Regions from separate parts of the Homo sapiens genome. Here region 2 is linked to region 1. The links are contacts of gene promoters, found by promoter capture Hi-C in human tissues and cell types (Jung and others, 2019). All regions are on one chromosome and are shown on one strand. Each heading gives the region's core, a stretch centred on a gene start or on the middle of the fragment in contact. The rest is flanking DNA. Distances are from core to core; before and after follow the strand shown.

Region 1 (4,291 bases), core at 717-3,216:
TGGGGTTCCCTTCTTGGGCCTGCCTCTTAAAGGCCTGAGCTAGCTGGAGAAGAGGGGAGGGTCCATAAGCCCATGACTAAAAACTACCCCAGCCCAGGCTCTCACCATCTCCAGTCACCAGCATCTCCCTCTCCTCCCAATCTCCATAGGCTGGGCCTCCCAGGCGATCTGCATACTTTAAGGACCAGATCATGCTCCATCCAGCCCCACCCAATGGCCTTTTGTGCTTGTTTCCTATAACTTCAGTATTGTAAACTAGTTTTTGGTTTGCAGTTTTTGTTGTTGTTTATAGACACTCTTGGGTGTACCTGAGTCTCTGTTATTTATTTTTCAGGGCCCAGCAGTCAGGGGGAAACTTCTCAGAGTTGGTCCTTTCTTCCTCCCTCCCTTCCTTCCTCCCTCCCTTCCTTCCCCCCTTCCTTCCTCCCTTCCTTCCTTTCCCTTCCTTCCTTCCCTCCTTCCTTCCCTTGCTTCCTTCTGCTAGCTCTCAGTATCTAGGCCCTATGCAAACGACTCAGCTCAGTTCACCCTCAGAGAGCTGCATTCTAGTGGTGGAGACTTGAAAACTGATCCTTAGGGCACAGTGGCATGGGTTACACGGGGGGAGTGACAGTGCGGTGGGACACGGTGAAGAGACTTTGGAAAAACTAACCCCTGTTGGGGAAATAAAATTAAAGACAAAATCCCCTGCCAACGCAGAAAACCTCTTCACAAGGGTAGAAAAGAAAGAAAACAGTGTTATTATTGAATAAGCATTAAACCGGAATGTGATACACTGGTGATCCACTAAAGAGACTGCAAAGAGACAAAAATCTTACTCTTTTATGTAGCAAAGTGAATACAACTTACTGTATCCATTTTCTCAAGATAAACAATAACTGGTCCTCAAGCAAGAGGACTTGGCTGCACCTCACTCTAAATTTACCTGGTAAGTGGGAAGCCACCTGTGTCTGCTAATTGCCTTTATCCAAAGGAAAAATCGATTTCCCCTATCTTTATAACAAAGGGTAGGTTGCAACTAAGAGCTAGGCACCAACTGAAGTTAGGCTCCTACCCTCCCACAGGAACTGAGAGAGAGCACTATCTTCCTTAATTATTACATTTCAAAGGGTTGGCCCCCAGGTCCTTGAGAAAAACATTCCGGGGTTGTAAAACTGGCAAGAGGTTTATTTACCTTTTAAGAAGATTTACATTCATCGCAAAGCAGTAGAGAAAGTATTCACAATTACAAGTTTTCTAAAGTAAATGCTCTCAGAAAAGTGAGGGGAAGGAGTCTTTTCCCTTTTTGCGCCAGGGAAAATTAAATTTTCTTTTTCTTCTAATTTGTATCCACCCTTACACCACTCATTTCACAAATAACGTCACCGTAAAGATTTACTAAATGCTCACTATATACCAGGTGGTCTGCATACAACTCAGTTAATCCTCTCAACAACCTAAAAGAGAGATATTGTTATTACTATCCCTACAGGGCCCACATAGGTTAAGTGACTTGCCCACAAGATCACATGTTGAGTAAATGGCTGAGTTAGGATTCCAGACCAGGACTGTGCGATTCCAAACTCAGCGACTTTAGTCTCCAGGCTACGAGGCTGCCAGAGACATGGCTGAAACCCAGTAGTAGTTCTTACACGGTCCCATCCTTGTCTAAGGGAGGGGTGAGGTGGGGTGGAGAGGGGATTGGGTTGGGGGTAGAAGGCTACCGCAGGCGCCATGGACCTCCCAAAATAACCCTGGCCCGAGGGCCAGGAATGAGATTAAGGACGGAACGCATGCCCTCCAAAAAGTGGCATTTTAGAATTTATACAGCACCCCAGCACGCTGCTAAACGTGGGCACACAACCACCACGGCCCGATCACGCGCAGCGGGAACCCGGTCTCTGAGCTCCGCCCCGTGCGTTGCGTCATCAGAGTCACGCCACCTAATCCATTCTCTCGGTCTTCGTCTGCTCCGGTATTGCAACTGCCTCGATTGGTCGATCCTGGGCCAGCATGGCGGCGCCCATGTAACCCGGTCCGTGCCGCAAAGCGAACGGCGGCCGCGGCGCGGGCCCCGCGGGGGTTAGAGGTCACCATGCTGAGGGTCGCGTGGAGGACGCTGAGTTTGATTCGGACCCGGGCAGTTACCCAGGTCCTAGTACCCGGGCTGCCGGGCGGTGGGAGCGCCAAGTTTCCTTTCAACCAGTGGGGCCTGCAGCCTCGAAGTGAGGAGCTGAGAAATGGGACGGCGGGCGTAGGGAAACAGGGTTCGGCGAAGATAGGGAATAAGGAAGCACAGGAGTAGGGGAGATATACAGCGGTCAGGATAAGGGGGAAAGGGCGGTGGTTGCGCAAGAGGTGAAACAAGATGTGAGAGACAAGGGGTAGGGAAGAAATGGGGCAGCGGTTAGGTTCAGAAGCGCATAGACCGTGGCGGACGGGCAATGCGAGGGGCACAGAAAGGAACTGAGGGGTGGGCTATTTAAGGAGATGGTCCTCAGCCCTCTCTTTTCTGCGTAGGTCTCCTCCTCCAGGCCGCGCGCGGATATGTCGTCCGGAAACCAGGTAGGAGTTCCTAAGGTGGGACTTGGGGCGGAAGAGAGACCTCCTGGAAGGCTGGGGTGGGTAAGGGGACCGATGTGGCGAATTAGAGCCACTAGATGAGGTGAGCCAGAGGTCCTGAGCAAAAGACCCCACGTCCACCTTACACAAAGCCCTAGGCCTGCAGCCTGTATGGGGACAGAGGGGTGTGAAGGGCGGGAGCAGGAGCTTTCCAGGTGAATGAGTGAAAATGAGCTTCCCAGAGGGAGTGCATGGCTGGCACCACCCAGGCCTACCTAGAGTATGGCACTTTGTGTCTGCGCTTCTGAGATGCAGGATGTAATTTCCCATTGCAACTCAGTATGCATAGTAGTTAAGATCCTTCTTATTAGGTAAATGATATGGGGCAAGGTACTTCCTCTCTCTGATTCTTATTTCTAAAATGAGTGTGAAAGTATCCATTTGCAAGGATTGTTAGGATTCAGCGATAATACACGAAAAGCACCCTTAACGCTGTGCTCAATTAAATATATTGATAGTATATATTAGAATTTATTATCTGGGGCCGGACGCGGTGGCTTACGCCTGTAATCCCAACACTTTGGGAGGCCAAGGTGGGCAGATCACTTGAGTTCAGGAGTTCGAGACCAGCCTGGCCAACATGGTGAAACCTCGTCTCTACTAAAAATACAGAAAAAAATTAGCCAGGTGTGGTAGCGCGCGCCTGTAATCCCAGCTACTCAGGAGGCTGAGGCAGGAGAATCGCTTGAACCTGGGAGGTGGAGGTTGCAGTGAGCCGATCGTGCCACTGCACTCCAGCCTGGGTGACAGAGCGAGACTCCATCTCAAAAAAACAAAAAAGAAAGAAATTATTGGCTGGACATGGCCCCAACATTTTGGGAGGCCAAGGCTGGAGGATCACTTGAGGCCAGGAGTTCAAGACCAGCCTGGGCAACATAGCAAGACCCAGTCTCTACAAAAAATAAAATAAGTAGAATTTATTGCTATTAATATATTTTTAATATAATTCTTTTCTGCCTCCCTATCAGAATCAACTTGAGCTGTTACAGACAGAAGAGGCCCATTAATGTTATTTGCATAGCAGGGTCTGACTGGAGAGGATAAGTCCATCTACTCTATGCCTCTTCCTCATCTCCAAGGGATAGCAGGGGTGCACACACCAAGACTGAGGTTTTCCTGTGATCTCTACTTGGTGCTTACATTTCAGGCATCGTACAGCTAGCTGCCTTTCCTCAACCCCCTTAATTCATACATGCAGTCAGCCAGCAAGTGTTTGTTGAGTGCCTAGTCTAGGCTGAGCCATGGGCCAGACTATGGTGGATTCCAAGGGAGTCAAACTCTGTCCTATCCACAGGAGGACCCATCCTAGTGGGGGATCTGAGAACTGTAGAGCCAGATAGGTGTGTGAAAGGTGCAGGCACAGTGTAGGGTCTTGGGAAAAGCCACCTACTCGCAACATGAAATATCAAAGCAGGTGCCCACGGAGTTTGCAAAGGAGAAACTGAGCCGAGAGATATCCAGTGCTTTGCTTGAGACCCTGAATGTCCCTTCTGGAGTTGGAGAGTGGGTGAAAAGAGCCAGGTCTGGGAGGGTGGGCAGCGAGAGTTGACTCTGGGTGTTTTCTATCCCCATATTTACTTGACAGCCCAGTCTAGGCTGGATGATGACCCACCTCCCTCTACGCTGCTCAAAGACTACCAGAATGTCCCTGGAATTGAGAAGTAAGCAGGAAGAAACCTAGTAGAGGAGG
Region 2 (4,191 bases), core at 26-2,525, 180 kb after region 1:
AGCCTTCAAAAATAATTTGGTGAAAAATAATCAGCTATAGAGATTTGAAGCAAGCAGCTCAAATAAAAATAAAATGTTCTTTCTTCCAAAGTGGGTGGGAAATACTATGTGCTGGCAGAGGAAAGGAATCAGGCAATCAGCATGGCAGTCAAAGCTGATCTGGATTTGTAGTTTAAAGAGACCTGGAATATCTTATAGCCCAACCCTGCACCTCAAGCCAACCCCCCAGTCCATTTGACACTCACAGGAAAAGTCTAACAAAAGATCTTCAAACATCCACATCGACTGATGCAATGATTATCTCAATATACAAAGTCACACCCCCTTACCTCAGCCTGCGCTTCCTTGAACGAGAGAGAGATCGGCTTCGGGACCGAGACTTCGAAAATGAACGAGAACGAGATCTTGATGCAGATCTTGAGCGAGAAGAGCGAGATCCAGACTTGGATTTGTTTGTTTTTGACATCTCTGAAGAGAGGATCACTTTTCAATTACACCTAATGTAAGAAAATGCATTAGAACAAATGAGTGAGTTCCTTTGCAAATGTGAACCTCTTTGGACATTTTAGAAACACATTTCTTTTAATCTGGGCAACTTGAGAAGACCCCATATCTACAAAAAAAAAAAAAAAATTTTTTTTTAATTAGCCAGTCACAGTGGTGCGTTCCTGTAGTCCTAGCTATTTGAGAGGCTAAGACAGGAGGGAGTGCAAAGTTACAGTGAGCTGTGATCACACCTCTGCACTGCAGCTCTGGAGGAAAGAGCAATACCCTATCTCCAAAAAAAAAAAAAAGAGAGAAAGTGGCTGAGCACGGTGGCTCACGCCTGTAATCCCAGTGCACTGGGAGGCCAAGGTAGGAGGAGGACTGCTTAAGTCCAGGTGTTCAAGACTAGCCTGGGCAACATAGCAATATCCCGTGTCTACAAAGTTAAAAAAAAAATTTTTTTTTTCTTGAGATAGGAGTTTTGCTTTTGTTGCCCAGGCTAGAGTGCAATGGCTTAATCTCAGCTCACCACAACCTCCGCCTCCCGGGTTCAAGCAATTCTCCTGCCTCAGCCTCCCAAGTAGCTGGGATTACAAGCATGGGCCACCATGCCCGGCTAATTTTTTTGTATTTTTAGTAGAGACAGGGTTTCTCCTTGTTGGTAAGGCTGGTCTCGAACTCCCGACCTCAGGTAATCTGCCCGGCTCGGCCTCCCAAAGTGCTGGGATTACAGGCGTGAGCCACCGTGCCTGGCCTACAAAGTAAAAACTTTTAAAATTAGCTGGATGTAGTGGTAAGGGCCTGTAGTCCTAGCTACTCCAGAGGCTAAGGTGGGAATGGCCTGAGGCCAGGATTTTGAGACCAGCCTAAGCAACATAGGAAGATTCCCCCACCTCTACAAAAAAAACAACTGTTTAAATAAAATAAACTTTAAAAACAGAAAGTAACATTAAAAAAAAAAAAAAGATGAAATGACTGATTTTTAAAAACCACTCTGCTCTTTCATCAAAAGGAATTTCTTAGTAGTACAAATCCCAAACAGACCAAGCCACAGCAGCAAATGGAAAACCTGACATGTAACCCTAACTGGGTAATACTGTAAGAGATGACCAAGAATGAGGGTGCTTATTAATTTTGGTGCATGCAGTCTTTTCTCAGTAAGCAAAGAAGCTTTGAGACTAAAGTCAGCTGTTAATAAAAGTAATGAGGAGATGTGAGACAGGTTTCCTAGTTCCAAGAGAAGAAACCGCATGCAATTTAACTTAGTTACAGAGTATGTGGCACATCTAGTCATAAAGAACCATCAATTTGTTCCAGCTCTTTATTACAAAAGAGTCAGCTGGGGGCGGTGGCTCACGCCTGTAATCCCAGCACTTTGGGAGGCTGAGGTGGGCTGATCACCTGAGATCAGGAGTTCAAGACCAGCGTGGCCAACATGGTGAAACCCCATCTCTACTAAAAGTAGTGGCGGGTGCCTGTAATCCCAGCTACTCAGGAAGCTGAGACAGGAGAATCTCTCGAACCCAGGAGGCAGAGGTTACAGCGAGCCAAGATCGCGCCATTGCACTCCAGCCTGGACGACAAGAGCAAAACTCCGTCTCAAAAAAAAAAATAAATAAAAATAAAGAGTCAACTTTCTTTCAGGGTCATTTTCCCACCAAGAAACAAATAGTCTTTTTCCTTTTTTCCCCCTCCAGGAAAGAAGAGCGCCTCTAAGTTGCCCTGAGAGGTTAACGCCTGGTCTACAAGGTATACTTCTCTCCTTTATACTCTATTAGCGCCTTGGACATCTTCCCAGCAGTAAAAACTTTAAGTGCTAAAGTACATGTCTATCAAAGACAGTAAGAGTAAGGAATCTATCAAAGATCACAAAGCTAATTAATAGCCAAACCAGGCCCAAACTCCAGGGCCTATTCTATCACACTTTGCTGCCTAGCGAGATTCTGCCAAGTAATGCTGCCTCTTGTCTGTGAAGGGAAAATAATAATCAAATATTTCTCCCCTCCTACCCCTCAGAATTTGAAGATCTCAGCTCAAAAGCTATCTCCTCAGAGGTTCACCCTGACCACCCAGTCAAAAATAGCCACCAGTCATTCTCTAGGTCCAGTATGTATCTTATTTGTTTCTTCAGAGCAAAACTCAGTATGTGAAACTATCTTGTTTACTTGTTATTCTGTCTTTAATTAGAATGTAAGCTCTATAACAACAGAAACCTCATCTTTCTTTATTTAGTGCTGTATACCCAACGCCCAGAATAGCAAATGCTTAACCAGTGTTTTTATTAATTCATTTTATCCTTGAGGAGGGCATTTTTAATCCCGTTTTACAGATAAGAATTTTGAGGCATAGAGAAAGTAATTAACTTGCCCAAGGTCATACTGCCAAAATCCAAACCACGATCGACTTGCTCATTCATTAATTCATTCAGATGGGGTCTCCCTGTGTTGCCCAGGCTGGTCTCAAACTTCTAAGATCAATGGATCCTCCTGCCCTGGCCTCCCAAAGTGCTAGGATTACATGCGTGAGCCACCCCGCCCAGCCTCACCGTTGGCACATTTAACCACTATGTTATATTGCCTGTCTAGAGCAGTGTCTGGCATACAAGGGGTACTAACGAACTTATGGAACCAATGAATGCCAAGTGTCCACCCTTACCAAGTTTACAATCTGATAAAGGTGACAAGATATAGATAAACTGAAAGGTAGTATTTATTTTTGTTATATTCAAATAAAATACTTGAATTTCAAGAACTTTCCAAAAGACAAAAAACGCCTAGGAAGCTGCTATAGCTCCATCTCACAGGGGAAACAAGCAAAATCTTAGAGACATAATTTAGAGGAGAACTGAGAAACTAATAAGAAGTCAGAGACAAAAGGTGATGAGTAAAAGACTGCTAGATGAGGATGCCAAGAACCCACGGTTTTAATCCTGCCAAAAAGATCACACTGTTGCAAGCTCTAGCAAGGTCAAAGATATTTCAATTTGGAGCTATTTTTGGCAGTAGTGTCACTATATGAAGTCAGAATAAAGGAGTAAGTTATTCAGGAGTGGGAGGTGGAGGTATAAACAAACAATTTACAATGAGAATATTAAAAATAAAAATACATTTTGTTTTTTTGGTTGTTCTTAAGCATTATTTTGGGGTTCTCTGGGTTCACTCTTGCCAAATGGAGACCTTTATTTCTGTCACAAGTTCAGGGATATCTATCTATGTCTGCCTAGTAACAGACTGTCTAACATTCTATTTTAACTTGGGTCAGAAATAAAAATCCATCCAGATGACTTACACAACAGGTGGATATTATCAGACTTTAAAAGAATAAAAAAGGGCAACAAGTTAGTGGAAAAGGAAACACTCATTTCAACACTCAGAAACTAGAAAACTAAGAAGCTAATTTTCATTAAGATGAAGAAAAGCTGCCATGTAAATACAAACAGAGCCAAACTTAACAATTCTGCACATATTAAGCTTACCAGAATTGACAAGTGCACTCAAGAGCTGCAATACTGTGACGCCCCCCGACTCCCATTCCCGGAGCCTCCTCTTTAACATGAATTGAAACTAATTATTTTATTTATGTATTTATTTTATTTTATTTTTATTTATTTATTTTTTTTTGAGACAGAGTTTTGCTCTTGTTGCTCAGGCTAGAGTGCAATGGCATGATCTCAGCTCACTGCAACCTCTGCCACCTGGGTTCAAG

The links. The method cuts DNA at HindIII sites, captures the fragments that hold promoters and counts their contacts. A contact is called where the count stands out against the background at its distance.
Region 2: a fragment that was not itself captured here is called in contact with the fragment with the promoter of MRPS15 in region 1 in 1 of the 25 tissues and cell types used here (spleen).

What each region holds. Positions count from the first base shown.
Region 1 is chr1:36,462,059-36,466,349 of GRCh38, reverse strand. It overlaps MRPS15 (mitochondrial ribosomal protein S15), which reads left to right and starts at 1,966. Exons shown (of 8, transcript NM_031280.4): 1 at 1,966-2,204; 2 at 2,500-2,544; 3 at 4,187-4,262. The coding sequence starts at 2,075. CSF3R (colony stimulating factor 3 receptor) reads left to right here. Exons shown (of 17, transcript NM_000760.4): 17 at 1-307. RefSeq lists enhancers at 1-122, 1,153-2,054, 1,811-2,060, 1,460-2,659, 2,055-2,958. The HindIII fragment of the contact is 17,048 bases long and covers 1-4,291 here.
Region 2 is chr1:36,278,839-36,283,029 of GRCh38, reverse strand. THRAP3 (thyroid hormone receptor associated protein 3) reads right to left here. Exons shown (of 12, transcript NM_005119.4): 3 at 330-497. The coding sequence starts at 466. Among named protein-coding and RNA genes, the nearest start is that of SH3D21, 25 kb to the left of the region's middle. The HindIII fragment of the contact is 3,063 bases long and covers 1-2,806 here.